Regions from separate parts of the Homo sapiens genome. Here regions 1, 3, 4 and 5 are each linked to region 2. Evidence: promoter capture Hi-C in 16 types of primary human blood cells and fetal thymus (Javierre and others, 2016). All regions are on one chromosome and are shown on one strand. Each heading gives the region's core, a stretch centred on a gene start or on the middle of the fragment in contact. The rest is flanking DNA. Distances are from core to core; before and after follow the strand shown.

What was found. The method cuts DNA at HindIII sites, captures the fragments that hold promoters and counts their contacts. A CHiCAGO score of 5 or more calls a contact.
Region 1: a fragment that was not itself captured here is called in contact with the fragment with the promoter of ZNF605 in region 2 in 15 of 17 cell types (megakaryocytes, M1 macrophages, naive CD8 T cells and 12 more); the score reaches 12.0 in megakaryocytes.
Region 3: a contact is called between a fragment that was not itself captured here and the fragment with the promoter of ZNF605 in region 2, in 5 of 17 cell types (erythroblasts, naive CD8 T cells, monocytes and 2 more). The highest score is 7.4, in erythroblasts.
Region 4: the fragment with the promoter of ANKLE2 here is called in contact with the fragment with the promoter of ZNF605 in region 2 in 1 of 17 cell types (naive CD4 T cells); the score reaches 5.0 in naive CD4 T cells.
Region 5: a contact is called between a fragment that was not itself captured here and the fragment with the promoter of ZNF605 in region 2, in 2 of 17 cell types (megakaryocytes and M0 macrophages). The highest score is 6.8, in megakaryocytes.

Annotation. Positions count from the first base shown.
Region 1 is chr12:133,187,704-133,190,865 of GRCh38, reverse strand. ZNF268 (zinc finger protein 268) reads right to left here. Exons shown (of 6, transcript NM_003415.3): 3 at 2,794-2,994. Among named protein-coding and RNA genes, the nearest start is that of ZNF268, 7.8 kb to the right of the region's middle. The HindIII fragment of the contact is 1,125 bases long and covers 1,066-2,190 here.
Region 2 is chr12:132,954,837-132,958,125 of GRCh38, reverse strand. ZNF605 (zinc finger protein 605) reads left to right here and starts at 1,820. Exons shown (of 5, transcript NM_183238.4): 1 at 1,820-1,883. It overlaps LOC124903064 (a long non-coding RNA gene), which reads right to left and starts at 1,577. Exons shown (of 2, transcript XR_007063552.1): 1 at 1,396-1,577. RefSeq lists enhancers at 1,610-1,689, 1,443-2,271, 2,549-2,843, 2,272-3,102 and a silencer at 1,850-2,189. The HindIII fragment of the contact is 12,358 bases long and covers 1-2,729 here.
Region 3 is chr12:133,169,248-133,172,310 of GRCh38, reverse strand. No RefSeq gene overlaps it. Among named protein-coding and RNA genes, the nearest start is that of ZNF268, 11 kb to the left of the region's middle. The HindIII fragment of the contact is 7,086 bases long and covers 1-3,063 here.
Region 4 is chr12:132,760,166-132,763,639 of GRCh38, reverse strand. It overlaps ANKLE2 (ankyrin repeat and LEM domain containing 2), which reads left to right and starts at 1,808. Exons shown (of 13, transcript NM_015114.3): 1 at 1,808-2,022. The coding sequence starts at 1,842. RefSeq lists enhancers at 1,140-1,239, 1,594-2,462 and silencers at 1,390-1,679, 1,770-2,359. The HindIII fragment of the contact is 14,066 bases long and covers 1-3,474 here.
Region 5 is chr12:133,117,852-133,120,934 of GRCh38, reverse strand. It overlaps ZNF891 (zinc finger protein 891), which reads left to right. Exons shown (of 2, transcript NM_001277291.2): 2 at 1-3,083. The coding sequence ends at 651. Among named protein-coding and RNA genes, the nearest start is that of ZNF891, 11 kb to the left of the region's middle. The HindIII fragment of the contact is 3,178 bases long and covers 169-3,083 here.

The DNA of each region.
Region 1 (3,162 bases), core at 379-2,878, 230 kb before region 2:
CAGTCCTGCCACCAAGAAGCTTTTAGCACTGCAGAATGAAGAACAGTTACATATGCAAATGCAACTGAAAGTCAAAGAAGCTAAGAAAAAAGAACACAGATTACAACGTAGGCACAAAGGAAGAAGGAAGCAATGCTATTTGACAGTGTCAGGTGAAATCTGTGAAAGGGCACTATTGGTACCCAGAAGAGAAGACACATTAAAACTTTATGGACTAAAAAGGTAACTGCTGTAAGTAGCAGCCACTCTGTGGGATAAAGACCTAAACATGAAAATATACAGATGGTAAATGAGCATACAAAGCATGCTCAATACCATATGTCATTAGGGAATTGCAAATCCAGACAAAAGTAAGACACCACTACACACCTATTAGAATGGATAAAATCCAAAAAACTGACCACCAAATGCTGGAGAGGATGTGGAGCAATAGGAACTCTTATTCATTGCTGGTGGGAATGAAAAGTGGTAGAGTCACTTTGGAAGCCAGTTTGGCAACTTCTTACAAATCTAAACAGTCTTACCATATAATCCAGCAACTATGCCCCAGGTATTTATACAAATGAAAACTTACGTCAAAGCAAAAATAGAAGACACACATGACAAGCATCAGATATGAAAAGAAGTTATCATTACTGAATTCACAGACAAGAAAAGACTAACTGCTCTGCGCACATAAATTTGGTTAAGTTAGTTGAAAAGGACATATTCCTTGGAAGACGCAAATTACCAAACTTACTCAAAAACAGATAAACTTGGGCCAGGCGCCATGGCTCACGCCTGTAACCCTAGCACTTTGGGAGGCCGAGGCGGGCAGATCACAAAGTCAGGAGAACGAGACCATCCTGGCTAACATGGTGAAACTTCGTCTCTACTAAAAATACAAAAAAATTAGCCGGGCATGGTGGCACATGCCTGTAGTCCTAGCTGCTCAGGAGGCTGAGGCAGGAGACTCACTTGAACCCAGGAAGCAGAGGTTACAGTGAGCCGAGGTCGTGCCACTGTGCTCCAGCCTAGGCGACAGAGCGAGACTCCGTCTCAAAAAAACAAACAAACAGATAAGCTTAATTATTACATATCTATTAAAGAAATAAAATTTGTAGTTAACAGCATACAGATTGGAAAGAAACAAAACTGTCCTTTTTTACAGAGAGAGTAAGGAAACTGAGGATGCCAACGAAAAGATGAAGATGACACGACTGTTTATGAAGAAAATACCAAAAAACCTAAGAAAGTTCCTAGAACTAACTAGTGAATGTAGCAAGGTCACAGGATACATGGTCAATACATAAAAGTTGGCTATATGCCTATATAACAGCAATAAATCATTTGATTTTGAAATTAAGAAACTAGCTGGATGCCGTGGCTCACACCTGTATTCCCAGCATTTTAGGAGGCCGAGGCAGGTGAATCACTTGAGGTCAGGAGTTTGAAACCAGCCTGGCCAACATGGTGAAACCCTGTCTCTACTACAAATACAAAAATTAGCCGGGTATGGTAGTGCGCACCTGTAGTCCCAGCTACTCGGGAGGCTGAGGTAGGAGAACTGCTTGAACCCAGGAGGCAGAGGCTGCAGTGAGCCCAGATTGTGCCACTGCACTCCAGCCTGAGTGACAGAGCAAGACTCCATCTCAAAAAAAAAAAAAAAAAAGGAATTAAGACACTGATACTGTTTACAACAGCAACAACAAAACAGAAAGAACTTACATATAAATCTAAAATATCTGTGTAGGATCTGTATGCTCAAAACTATAAACATTGACTTTTAAAAATCAAAGATCTAAATAATGGGGGAATCCTGTGTTCATGGATTTGAACTCAATCCCAAAGGCACTGTAAATCGAAAAGTGAAAGGTAAAGTAATAAAGTAATAAAGAAAAAGATCTTTATGAGCTTAGGATAAGAAAACAATAGGACACAAAAATCATTAGCAATAAAATAAAAAAATTTGCAATCCAGACTCAGTAAAAGTTAGAAATATCTGTTCATCAAAAGTAAGCATTAAGAGACTAAAAAAGCAAGCCAATATTGGAAGTAAAAGAAGCACCCGAGGAAAAAATTTGAATATAGGCTTCATAGTAAGTTTGTTTTAAACTTTAATGTGCATGAATCACTGAATCTTATTAAAATGAAGAGTCTGATATTAACAGCATTGAGGTGAACTCTGATATTCTGCATTTCTAACAAGCTTCCCGAACAATACATATTACGTAAACACACATTTTTTAAAAAAAAGGATACACATAAAACACAAAATAACTTTTTGGGGATGGGAAAGGAGATGAAAATTGAGTATGAGGAAATAAGAGAATATATAAATAAAGGTAGATAAGGACCTTACATGAACCAATGATGATAAAAGGGCCATGGGCCAGGCACAGTGGCTCATGACTGTCATCCCAGCACCTCAGGAGGCTGAGGCAGGAGGACTGCTTGAGCTTAGGAGTTGATGACCAGCCTGAGCCACACAGGGAGACCTCCTCTCTACTAAAAATAAAAAACATCAGCCAGGCATGGTGGCACTTGCCTGCTGTCCCAGCTACTCAAGAGGCTGAGGCTGGAGGATCACTTGAGCCTGGAGTTTGAGGCTGCAGTGAGTTATGATTGCACCACTGCGCTCCACTCTGGGCAACAGACCAAGACCCTGTCTCAAAAAAAAAAGTGGGGGGGTTTTGAACTGAACTGAGGAGTGATTAACTTAACCCTCTGACCTAAGGATCTCCATCCCTCTCTGCACCAAAAAAAAAAAAGGTAATAAAGAAAACACTAGGAATAAACAAATGAGAAGCTCACCCAGGACTTGGTGATTTTTGGCTGCTCTTGGGAAATAAACAGCCACTCTAGGACTTTCTCTATTCTGCGACTCTTCTGCTTCTGCCTGGGTGTTCCAGGGAGAGGTTGCAGACCAGGAGTCCCTTGGCCCAAGATGGATTCCTGACCTTGGAGCTTTCTGATCCTATCCCATGAACTGTTTCGTTCTTGGAGAGGTGGGACCTGTGGACTCAAGAGCAAATTTACTTTAGCGAGCATTATTTCCTTTGGGGAAAAGGAAATAGGGGTCACATCACATAAATGTGAGAGAAACACGTTAGAAAACAAGGCAGGTTTAACTTCAGGAAATGCAGGGTTAGAGGCAGAAAAGAAATGGCTTCCTGACAAGGC
Region 2 (3,289 bases), core at 571-3,070:
TTATATTTTTAGTACAGATGGGGTTTCACCATGTTGGTCAGGCTGGTCTCGAACTCCTGACCTCAGGTGATCCGCCCGCCTTAGCCTCCCAAAGTGCTGGGATTACAGGTGTGAGCCACCGCGCCTGGCCTGGCCAAAAAATATTTTTAAGAGAAGGTGTCTCCCTCTGTGGCCCAGGCTGGAGTGCAGTGTTGCCATCATAGCTCACTGCAGCCTCAACCTCCCAGGCTCAGGCAATCCTCCTGCCTCAGCCTCCAGTAGTTGGGACTACAGGGACAAGCCACTGCTTTATATATCCATAAATATATTTTATTTCCCTGTAATGTCCTCATCTCATTTATTTTTCCTTTTTTTTTTCTTGAGATGAGGTCTCACTCTGTTGCCAGGCTAGAGTGCAGCGGCATGATGGCTCACCGCAACCCCCGCCTCCCGAGTTCAAGTGATTCTCCTGCCTCAGCCTCCCGAGTAGATGGGATTACAGGCGCCCACCACCACGCCCAGCTAATGTTCTGTATTTTTAGTAGAGACGGGGTTTCACCGTGTTGGCCAGGATGGTCTCAATCTCCTGACCTGGTGATCCGCCCACCTCAGCCTCCCAAAGTGCTGGGATTACAGCCGTGAGCCACCGCGCCCAACCCTATCATCTATTTTCATTCCTTTTGTCAATACTGCTGGATTGGATGTACTAAATGTAAGGTCCTCTGAGCTGGCCGCACCATGGTCAAGCCATCGTGACATTCCCCCACCCTTGTGATAATGTACTTTGTAATATTCCCGGTCCTTGTGAATGTACTTTGTAACATTCCTCTCCGCCCTTGTGACAATACACCCTCCCCGCCCTTGTGAATGTACTTTGTAACATCCTCCCCTGCCCGCAAAAAATTGCTGCTGAGGCCGGGCGCGGTGGCTCACGCCCGTAATCCCAGCACTTTGGGAGGCCGAGGAGGGCGGATCACGAGGTCAGGAGATCAAGACCATCCTGGCTAACACAGTGAAACCCCGTCTCTACTAAAAATACAAAAAAATTAGCCGGGCGTGGTGGCGGGTGCCTGTAGTCCCAGCTACTCAGGAGGATGAGGCAGGAGAATGGCGTGAACCCGGGAGGCGGAGCTTGCAGTGAGCCGAGATCGCGCCACTGCACTCCAGCCTCGGCGACAGAGTGAGACTCTGTCTCAAAAAAAAAAAAAAAAAAAAAAATTGCTGCTGACTCCACCGCCTATCCTATCCCAAAGCTATAAGAACCAATGACAAGCCCACCACCCTCCGCTGACTCCTTTCTCAGACTCAGCCCACTTGCACCCAAGTGAATAAACAGGCGTGTTGCTCACACTTAGCCTGCTCAGGTGGTCTCCTATACGGACGCACGTAACACTAACATTTACCGATATTACTTACAGCTACGATGAAAAATGGAAAAGCAGCCGGACGCAGTGACTCATGCCTGTAATTCCAGCATTTTGGGAGGCTGGGGCAGGAGGATCATTTGAACCCAGGAGTCGGAGACCAGCCTGAGGCTGCAATGAGCGTTCATGGCACCACTGCACTCCCCACTGGGTGACAGAGCGAGACCCTGCCTCCAAAAAAAAAAAAAAAAAAAACAAGGAAAAGATGCAGACGCTTCCTCCTGGAGGCGCCTTTAGGTTCTCTCACAGACATGTTGGGCCAGCAGTGCTGGCTCCATCCTAGATTTCTTCCAGTCCTCCCCAGTTAGCCGCCAAGGGGCTTTTCCAACCGGAAACCTCCAATCCGCGACCCCGGCGGGTGCACCGCCGAGCCCCCCGGGAAGTGTAGTTCCAGCGCGAGCGGGACGCTGGGAAATGTAGTTCTGCGCGTTCACGTCCCCGATCGGGCCGTGTCCGCCGCGGCCCTGCGAGGTCCGAGGGGTAAGGGAGCGTGCAGCGGGGGCGGGACCACGAGGCGGCGGGGCTGGGGGCGGCCTCTGTGTCTGCGCCGGGGATCGCGGTGACCCCGCTGCGGACCGGCTCGCGGTGACCCCAGCGCGAACGAGCTGGCTGCCGGCTGGGGCGAGAAAGGCCTGCGGACCGGCCTGGGCGCATGCGCGGAAGGCGGGCCTCAGGCGGGGGCTCTGGGGGCGCGCGGGGGTGGGAGGCAGAGGGTGGGGTGGGGGCTGTAGGGCGGGCGGCGGCGGGGCGCTGAATGTGGGTGTCGGGGGAGATTTGGGGTCAGCTGGGCGATTCACTGGGGGCCTATGGAGGTCGCTGTAGACTTGGGGTGCAGCACGGGCGGGGCAAGGGGACGCGAGGTTGCCCTTGGCCCCAGGGGAGAGGGGCCCCTGGGAGGCCGTGTGGAGGATTTGTCTGCAGCGATTAGGACTCTGCTGATGAATGATTTGGATGCCTTTGGGTGAGCATTGGAGGCCAGCGGGGTGAATGATGAGGCTTCTGCGGGGGCCTGCGTTGGAGGGCTTAGGGGCTTGCTTGTGTGGGTTCCATTCACTGGAAAGCCTGCCGGCTGTGACAGTGTTGGATTTCACCAGAGCCCTGTGCTCCTGGAAAACAGCGAAGGTTGAGGAATTTCCCACCCTTTTGGGTTCCAGCAAATGGCTCACTGCAAAGATCTCCCGTTCCCTATATGACTTTGGTCAGCCTCCAGGATGCCCCTTGTTCACACAGACCTGCCACGTTGCCGTCGCTTGCCTCATCGGTGACTGGCTGAACTCCACCGAGCGGTCGGAGCAAAATGCTCCTTAAGCAAACTTTAGCTAAGCTTCTTTCCTTTCCCCATTTTCTTGAGCTTTGGCCCATCCCCAGCCTGAGCCAACACGCAGCCTCGCCTGAGAACAGGCTGGCTCAGGGTCAAGCTTTCCCCGCTCTGCTGTCTGGTCGCCCGCACTTCCACCTCGCTTGGCCAGGCCTGGTCTTTGCTAACCTTGTTCACACCTCTCTGTGAAAGAAAAACCCTTTTTGCCTTGCAGAGATGCACGTGAGTCTCGTGGCTTCACGGTTCTTCCCAGAAGCCCGTTCTCCTTCCCCTTCCCAACCCTCTTCCGCGTCTTTTTTTCCCCACTTCCAATAACCCTTTGGAACCGTCTTTCTTTGCTCTGTCCAGTTGTATGTTTTATTTGACAGCTGAATAACAGTGGTTGCTCTTTCAACCCCTGTCTCCAATAGCGGAGGCGAGTATGGGGTGGCCTATGCTGGCGAGTGGCTGGGGTTTGTTTCTGTGCTTGTGTTTGGGGATCTTATGATGGAAGCATTAGGAATGGCGCTGTGTATTTGTGACAAGGGAGTCTGGATGTAAGTTAATGGTGGACCTGTTGCAAGTTGTG
Region 3 (3,063 bases), core at 20-2,519, 210 kb before region 2:
TCAGGAGGATCAAGGTGCTCTCCTGTGGCCTGGATTGCACAATTCCCTAGAGGGAAAATGAACCACAGAAAGGCACTCAGTTACCCTCTCCCATATCAGGGATTCACTCCCAGTTTTTGGCCAATTGCAGCCCTGCAGGCTGCCTGCCCTCCTTCTCTTCCCCAGATTCTGGAGATTCCCTTTGCTTTTCTTTTGAACTCCTATGTTCCCTCTTGGATAATATGTTCAAAGTGTGATTGCCCAGACACTAGTTTGGTTCATAGAAGTGGATAAGGTGAACTGAAAAAGCCTCTAGTCAGCCATCTTGGGGAAAGAAAACCAAAATTGTATTTTTCTCTTGAAAATTCTACTTTTATATTGACCAATAAATAAATAAATAATAAAACCCTGTCATTTGCCTTCCTTTAAGTGACAAGTTTACTTGGTTGATTTTTGAGAGAATACCTGCAAAGGTTTCTCAGTCCTTCTTTAATGCAAAGTTCAGCTCCCAATGTAAAGTTCACCTCTCAATGTAAATAATCACACAAATGCTTTTTCTTGAGACAACTGTGGAACTTCAGTATACAGCACAGAACGTTCATTGCACAGATATTAAAAAGAGATGTATTTAGGCCAGGCGTGGTGGCTCACGCCTGTAATCCCAGCACTTAAGAACGCCGAGGCAGGCAGATCATGAGGTCAGGAGTTTGAGACCATCCTGGCTAACACGGTGAAACCCCGTCTCTACTAAAAATACAAAAAAATTAGCTGGGCGTGGTGGCGGGCGCCTGTAGTTCCAGCTACTCGGGAGGCTGAGGCAGGAGAATGGTGTGAACCCAGGAGGCAGAGCTTGCAGTGAGCCGAGATCGCGCCACTGCACTCCAGCCTGTGCGACAGAGCGAGACTCCATCTCAAAAAAAAAAGAGATGTATTTAAGAGTTGATATTTAATAAAATGACTCTTTACTGCTTTATCAAAGACATCCTAAAGTTAAATTGACTTCCTTTAAAAAATACAAATCTGGGTGGAGAGGCTCATCTCTGTAATCCCAGCTACTTGGGAGGCTGAGGTGGGAGGATCACATGAGGCCAGCAGTATGAGACCAGCCTGGATAACATAGCGAGACCCCATCTCTAAATAAAATAAAATTACCCAGGTACGGTGGTGAACACCTACAGTTCTAGCTACTCAGGAGACTGAGGCAGGAAGACTGCTTGAGCCCAGGAGTTTGAGGCGGCAGTGAGCTATGATCATGCTACTGCACTCCAACCTAGGCAACAGAGCTAGACCCTGTCTCAAACAAACAAACAAAACTATGAACGTGTAGTGATGAAGAATACAATGGCTGCTAATAAATATCTTTTTTTGCTATTACCTTGATTGATGCTGAAGTGCCAGCAGTTTTACCCACCATCGTTTTGTACCATCAGTGCAAATTTCAACACAGTAGATAACCGCTTAAAATTGGAAATATCAGTGTTTACTGTAAAATTATTTAAACTCTTCTGTAAGTTTGAAATTTTTCATAAGAAAATATTAGGGGAAAAGTCATTATGGAAAAGATAAACTTTTCAATAAACTGTATAGGAACAACAAGGTAGCTATATAATAATATAAATAAAGATGGCTGTCTCACAATATATTTAAAATAAATCTCAGGTAGATTAAGTACGTCAACTAGGCTGGGTGTGGTGGCTAATGCCACCAAAGCACTTTGGACAATTTGAGAAGACCTCATCTCTAAAAAAAATTTGTTTAAATTAGCTGGGGTGGGGGTGCATACCCGTAGTCCCAGCTACTCAGGAGGCTGAGGCAGGAGGATCCTTTGAGCCAGGAGTTTGAGGCTGCAGTGAGCTATGATCATGCCACAGTACTCCAGCCTGGGTGTCTCTTTAAAAAAAAGTATGTCAGGCTTTAAAAAAAATCAGGCTTTAAAAAATTTTATATATTATATTATATTTTATTTTTATTTTTAGGAACATGATCTTGCTCTGTTGCCCCAGATGAAGTGCAGTGGTATAATCATAGCTCAAGGTAACCTCAAACTCCTGGGCTCAAGTGATCCTCTCACCTCAGCCTCCCAAGTAACTAAGACTACAGGTATGCACCACCATGCCTGACTTTTTTTTTTTTTTTTGGAGAGATACAGTCTCACCACGTTGCCAAGGATGGTCTCAAACTCCTGGCCTCAAGTGATCCTCCAGCCTCAGGCTCCCAAAGTGCTCTTTAGCAAAGCTCATTACCCAAGATAAGGGAAAAGATATTCAGGTATGGTGACATGCCTGTAGTCCCAGCTACTTGGGTGGCTGAGGTGGCGGAGGATTGCTTGAGCCCAGGAGTTCGAGGTTTCAGCGAGCTATGATTACACCATTGCACTCCAGCATGAGTGACAGAGTGAGACTTCCATCTCTTAAAAAAAAACAAACAGAAATGTTCACACAAAGACATGTACATAAATGTTACCAGAAGCATTATTCATAATAGCCAAAAAGTGGGAACAACCCAAATATCCAACAACTAATGTTTGAAAAACAAAATGAGACATATCTATACAATGTAACACTATTAAGCAAAAAAGGACTTAAGTACTGGTACATGCCTGAGCAAATAAACCTCAAAACATTATACTGAATGGAAGAAGCAAGTCTTATAAGACCACATATTGCATGATACTATTTACATGAAATGTTCTCAGAAGGCAAATCTGTAGAAACAGTAGCTTATTGGTTGCCTAGTCTGATTACTAATGGATATGAAGTTTTGGGGAGGGGGTATATGAAAATGTTCTAAAAATTAATTTTTTTTTGGAGACAGAATCTCACTCTGTCACCTAGGCTGGAGTGCAGTGGTGCTATCTCAGCTCACAGCAACCTCCAGCTCCCAGGTTCAAGCGATTCTCCTGCCTCAGCCTCCTGAGTAGCTGGGATTATAGGTGTGCCACCATGCCCGACTGTGTGTGTGTGTGTGTGTGTGTGTGTGTGTGTGTGTATTTTTAGTAGAGACAGGGTTTCACCATGTTGGCCAGGCTGGTCTCGAACTCCTGACCCCAGGTGATCCACCCATCTCGGTTTCCCAAATTTCTGG
Region 4 (3,474 bases), core at 559-3,058, 190 kb after region 2:
GGTTCACACCATTCTCTTGCCTCAGCCTCCCGAGTAGCTGGGACTACAGGTGCCTTCCAGCATGCCCGGCTAATTTTTTGTATTTTTTAGTAGAGACTGGGTTTCACCGTGTTAGCCAGGATGGTCTCGATCTCCTGACCTCGTGATCTGCCCGCCTCGGCCTCCCAAAGTGCTGGGATTACAGGCGTGAGCCACCACGCCCGGCCAAGGGGGGTTAGGGTTTCAACATACGAACGCTGGGGACAGACACTCAGAATACAGCAGAGGTGTACGTTTAACTTTGAAAGAAACTGCCTCACTATTTTCCAAGGTGGTTAACTCAGTGTTTGCTCTTGCCAGCAAAATTTGATATTGCCAATTTTTAAATTTTAGCCATTCTGGTGGATTTCAAGCAGCATCTCATCGTGGTTTGAATTTCCATTTCATCCATCTTCAAAATTACTGACCCTTTCTTCTGTAGTGCCCAACCAACCATTAGTACCATCCAATGATATTTTTTAAGAGATGGGGTCTTGCTATGTTGGTCAGGCTGGCGTGCAGTGGCTATTCACAGGCGAGATCACGCTCATGGCAGCCTCGAACTCCCGGACTGAAACTACCATCACCCCTCACGCTCCAGAGTTGCTGAGACTACAGACCTGAGCCACCTCGCTCAGATCAATTATGTTTTTAACCAAGGATATCAATTATATTTTTCAGGTCTTTCATTTTCATTTAATAATATCTAAATTAGGCGGGGCGCGGTGGCTCACGCCTGTAATCCCAGCACTTTGGGAGGCCGAGGCTGGTGGATCACTTGACATCAAGAATTCGAGACCAGTCTGGCCAACATGAGGAAACCCCGTCTCTACTAAACATGCAAAAATTAGCCAGGCGTGGTGGTGGGCACCTGTAATCCCAGCTACTTGGGAGGCTGAGGCAGGAGAATCGCTTGAGCCCAGGAGGCGGAGGCTGCAGTGAGCCGAGATCGCGCCACTGCACTTCAGCCTGGGCGACAGAGCAAGACACCGCATCAAAAAATAAATAAAACATCTAAATTACATACAGTAAAATCCTCCTTCCCTTTTTCGAGACAGGGTCTCACTATTAGGTTGGTGCAAAAGTAATTGCGGCTTTTACCATGACTTTCAAAATATTTGCCCGGGCTGGTCTCGAGCTCCCGGGCCGTGGGGATCCTCCCGCCTCGCCTCCCAAGGCGCTGGGACTCCGGACGCAGCCGCCGCGCCCGGCAAAATCCGCGCTTTCAACTGCGCGTCAGGGCCCCTTGGTGAAGGAGCGGGAAGCTCCGCCGGTCTCCATAGCGCCGGCGGCCTGTTCTGCGGGTTCGCGGGGGAGTGAGAGGCGCTTCCTCACTCCTGCTCCAGGACGGGACGACGGCCGCAAACAGTACTCGGGCTCGGAGCACACGAACCCGGAGGCCGCTTCGTTCTCGGAGACGCACAGCGCCCCACGGACGCCAGGCCGGGGCCGGGAGGCGCGAAGAAGCGCCGCCCCGCGCCCGGCCCCGCCCTGGTGGCCTCCCCGGGCCCCAGCCCCGGCCCCCGCCAGCACATTGCGCTCCCCGCGCCTCGCCGGTCCCAGGACCCCGCGTCGGGCTGCCCGCGCCCCGCCTGCCGCGCCCGCCCGTCCGCTCGCCCGTTCCCGCCCGCTTGGGTCCCAGGGCCGGGGCCGCGCCCTCGCCGGGCCTCCGCGAGCGGGGCCGCCGTCCGTGTCCCCCGCGCCGCCCCGGCCGCCTCGAGCGCGGCGCCGTCAGGCAGGGCGCGGGCAGCCCGGCGCGGGGTCCTGGGACGGGCGCGGCGCGGGGCGCGGGCTTCTCGGCGGCTGCGGCCCGGGCGGCGGCGATGCTGTGGCCGCGGCTGGCGGCGGCCGAGTGGGCGGCGCTGGCCTGGGAGCTGCTGGGCGCCTCGGTGCTGCTGATCGCTGTGCGGTGGCTGGTGCGGCGGCTGGGCCCGCGGCCGGGAGGTCTGGGCCGCAGCGGGACCCCAGTTCCTCCGCCAAGCGCGGCCGCCGCCCCCGCCTCAGGTAAGGCCCAGGCGGTCGCTGGGTCCCCGCACCCTGGCCCCTTCCCCGCCCCGACGCCCTCCTCGGGCCTGGGGTCCCGGCCGCGCCCCTGGAGCCGGCAGCAGTTGGGCGAGGCGGCCGGGGAAACCAGGGCCGGTCGGGAAAGGCCATTCCGGCCGCGGAAAGGGCAGTTGCGGGGACTTGGCTTCCCGGGCCGGGGGCGGAGGGGCCACGCCGGGTTCGGGGGTGAGAGCTTTCCCGGGCCCTGGAGCAGCCTCCGGGGAAGGCGGCGGGGGCCCGGCGAGGCGTTAGCGGAGACTCTTGCTGCGGTCTCTCGAGACCTGGGGAGGGATGGCCCAAAGGAGGGCGGCGCGGGGAGGAAACCCCTGGGTCCCGGATGTGTTTGGAACGTGAAGCCATTGCGGTTACTGGTCATGGAACATAAGGCAGAGACGGAAAAGGCAAATGTAACTCAGGGGTTTGGGGCCAGAGGAAGAGGGAGAAGGTGGCCATTTATTGCTTTGCGGTAGACTGTCGGGTCTGGGTGATGTGGAGATCAGAGGTGGGTTTTGGTCGTTTTAAGTTTGAGGTAACTGATACAGTGAACTGTGTATTTCAGCTCCATCCCCTTTTCCTGGCATACAACTCTTGAAATCCCGGGAACCTCCAAAGTGATGTCTTTTGTAGGCTGAGTGGACTGGTGGCCGGCAGCCCCTAGGGAGCTTCTGGATGGGGCTGGTCGCAGGAAAGACCAAGGCAGGGTTAGAGGTTCTGGGGACTTTCAGCCCCACCCCCAACCTCTGGGGAGGAGAGAGGGGTGAAGGTTGCGTTGATCACCAGTGGCTGATGAATCACGCCTGTGAAATGAAGTTCCTGTAAAAACCCAAAAGGGCTGGGTTCAGGGAGCTTCCAGATAGTACGTGGGGGTTCCTGGAGGCGGTGCCCAGAGAGGCCCTGAATTTCCAAGCGCTTCCCCCCGGTTTTACGTCACGCATCTCTTCACCTGTATTCTTTGTAATCCTTTATACTCTGCTGGTAAGTGTAAGTAAAACATGTCTGTGAGTTCGGGAGCCACTCTAGCAAATTACCGCAACCTGAGGAGGTCACCGGGTTACGCCCCGTCGGTCCCAAGCGCAGGTCAAACAACCTGGGCACTGGAAGTGGGGGGCAGTCTTGCGGGGCTGAGCCGTTAACCTGTGGGGGTCTGCTGGTATCTCCAGGAAGACGCTGTCAGAATAGATGACTGAATTAGGATGACAGACGACACCCAGCCTGTGTCCACTGCAGAACTGACGACCTGCGTGATTTGTGGGGAGAAAATCCCCACATACCTGGTGTCCGAAGCATGTTGCAAGACTAGTGGGAGAAACTGAGTTTGTTTTTACTCTAAATTGTCAGACTGTTAGTCACTGCGGAGAGGTGCTTTCTGATGATTGAGTGGGGATTCCTGTCCAATTGTGTGAGTTTGTGTCT
Region 5 (3,083 bases), core at 508-3,007, 160 kb before region 2:
TTCAAAAGGATTTCTAATCTTACTTTATACAAGAAAAGTCACATGGGTGAGAAACAATATGAATGTAAAGAATGTGGTAAAGTGTTCAATGATTCCTCAACCTTAAGGAGACATGTAAGAACTCACACTGGAGAGAAACCCTATGAATGTAATCAATGTGGAAAAGCTTTCAGTCAAAAAACATCCCTTAAGGCTCACATGAGAACTCACACTGGAGAGAAACCTTATGAATGTAATCAGTGTGGAAAATCCTTTGGCACAAGCTCTTACCTTATAGTGCACAAGAGAATACACACTGGAGAAAAACTCTATGAATGCAGTGAGTGTGGAAAAGCCTTCAACACGAGCTCTCACCTTAAAGTTCATAAGAAAATTCATACCGGAGAGAATGTTTATGAATGCAGTGACTGTGGGAAAGTTTTCAGTGGGGTCTCATCCCTTAGAATGCATATAAGAACTCACACTGGAGAGAAACCCTATGAATGTAAGGAATGTAGGAAAGCCTTCAGTGTTTCCTCTTCCCTTAGGAGGCATGTGAGAATTCACACTGGAGAGAAACCCTATGAATGTATTCAATGTGGAAAAGCCTTCAGTCAGAGCTCTTCACTTATTATACACAAGAGAATTCATACTGAGAGAGAAACCCTGTAAGTGTTATGAATGTGGAATTGCTGTTTTCATTGTCTTAAGGTGGATTCCAAGCTCCTTGTCTCAGTCTTTGTTCTCTAAAAGAACGATTTAAGGTTACAAATGGCTCTTTTTTTAATATAACATTTTCTGTAAATACTAATTATGACTTTTTTTGATCCATGGCTGTTTAGAATTAGGTATTTTTAATATGTGAGGTAGGTATATTTTCAGTTATCTTTTTATTGTTGGTTTCTAGGTTAATTCCATTGTGTTCAGAGAATCTGGACTATATTTTACTGCTTTGTTGGTGTTTTTATAAAAGTTGTTTTCTGGCCCAGTGAGACTGGTATTGCTAGCAGCCAACCAAACATTTGAGCTCATCTTTCCTTACTAATGAATTCCATCTTAGCCAAGAACAATAAGGTCTCTGGTTATAGAACGCTTCTTTGACTTCTTGTAGCTAAGGGTAGCCATATCATTCATTCTTGCTGATTCAAAAATAGACATATCACTGGGATCAGAACTATCTATCTTGTCCTCTACTTTTTGCACTTCATCTTTGTCCCTATGAATTGGCCATTCCTGAAGCTGCTGAAAGAGCTATCTTGTGATCATGAAAATGACAGCTGTAGCCAAGGGATGAAGTAGAAGAAAGAGATCCCTGTTCCTCAAAGAAATCTTTAAATAGTTGTACCAGCCCTGCACTACTTGTATCTGGATATGTTCCTACATGAGAAAAATAAGGTTTTTTGTTTGTTTTTTGAGATGGAGTCTCGGTATGTTGCCCAGGCTGGAGTGCAGTGGCACAATCTCAGCTCACTGCAACCTCCACCTCCCAGGTTCAGGTGATTCTCCTGCCTCAGCCTCCTGAGTAGCTGGGATTACAGGCACCACCGCCATGCCTGGCTAATTTTAGTATTTTTAATAGAGACGGGGTTTCACCATGTTGGCCAGGTTGGTCTCAAACTCCTGACCTCAGGTGATCCACCCACCTAGGCGTCCCAAAGTGTTGGCATTACAGGCGTGAGCCACTGTGCCCGGCCAAGAAAAATATGTTAATTGATTTTTTCTTTTTTTTTTTCAATTTTTCAGACAGAGTCTCTGTCTCTCAGGCTAGAATGCAGTGGTGTGGTCATGGCTCATTGCAACCTCGACCTCCTGGGCTCAGGTGATCCACCACAGTCTCCTCAGTAGTTGGGATCACAAATGCATGCCACCATGCCTGGCTAATTTTAAAAATATATATTTTGTAGAGACAGGCTCTTCCTACATTGCTCAGACTGGTCTGAAACTCCTGGGCTCAAGCAGTCCTCCTGCCTTTGCCTCCCAAAGTGCTAGGATTCCAGGCATGAGTTACCATGCCTGGCTCTTACTGATTTTTTTTAAAGCACTACATAAATACAGTCAACGCAGTCACCATATTGTAGAAAAACAGAAGTATATACAGTTAAATGTTTTATGTTGGATGTACACATTTGAAGAGGAACATAGAAAAAAAGTATGGAAAAGGAATGTTGACCGAGCTTTTATGCTTAAGCAGCAGATGAAGATAGAACCAAGATCACTGAAAGCAAGTGTTTAGAACAGCAAAAAGAGTATCCCAACATTTCAGCATTGGAACTACAGAAAGTTTTCAGACAGAGGGGAAGTTACCAATTTTAAATGCTAAGTAAAGCATGAGATTTTGCTGCTTGATCTTGCAGATACTGACCAGATTAGTTCTAACAAAATATGGAAGGAGTGGCATACGGTGGAAGAAAGAAGGCAGTAGCTGCTGTTGTAGTTATTCATGTTAGCCTCAGAGGATGGTGAGACATCCAGATGAAGAGGTTGGTACGCAATTCTAGAATTGAGGAGGTGTCTAGATAGAGATATAAATTGTAGTGACATCAGTAAAGAGACAATAACAGGCTTTGGAAGGTGAGTAAGAATGAAAAGGGAAGGTCTGCCACCTACCCTGAAGACATACATTTAAAGGAACTATAGTAGAGAGATAAGAGGAAAACAAGAAGAGTGGAGTTTCACTGAACCAAGACAAACAAGTTTCAAAAAGGAAGGTGAAGTTGGCCAGGTGTGGTGGTTCACGCCTGTAATCCTGGCACTTTGAGAGGCTGAGGCAGGCGGATCACAAGGTCAGATCGAGACCATCCTGGCCAACATGGTGAAACCCTGGTTCTACTAAAATACAAAAATTAGCCGGGTGTGGTGGCACATGCCTGTAGTCCCAGCTACTCAGGAGCTGAGGCAGAAGAATCACTTGAACCTGGGAGGCAGAGGTTGCAGTGAGATGAGATCTCACCACTGCACTCCAGCCTGGTGACAGAGCAGGACTTCATCTCAAAAAAAAAAAAAAAAAAAGGAAGGTGAAGGTAAATGTTTTTAGTGTTACTTAGGGATCCAATTAGATGAAGTCTAAAAAGGTAAACATATACAGCCAAGTGAAGATCATTTGT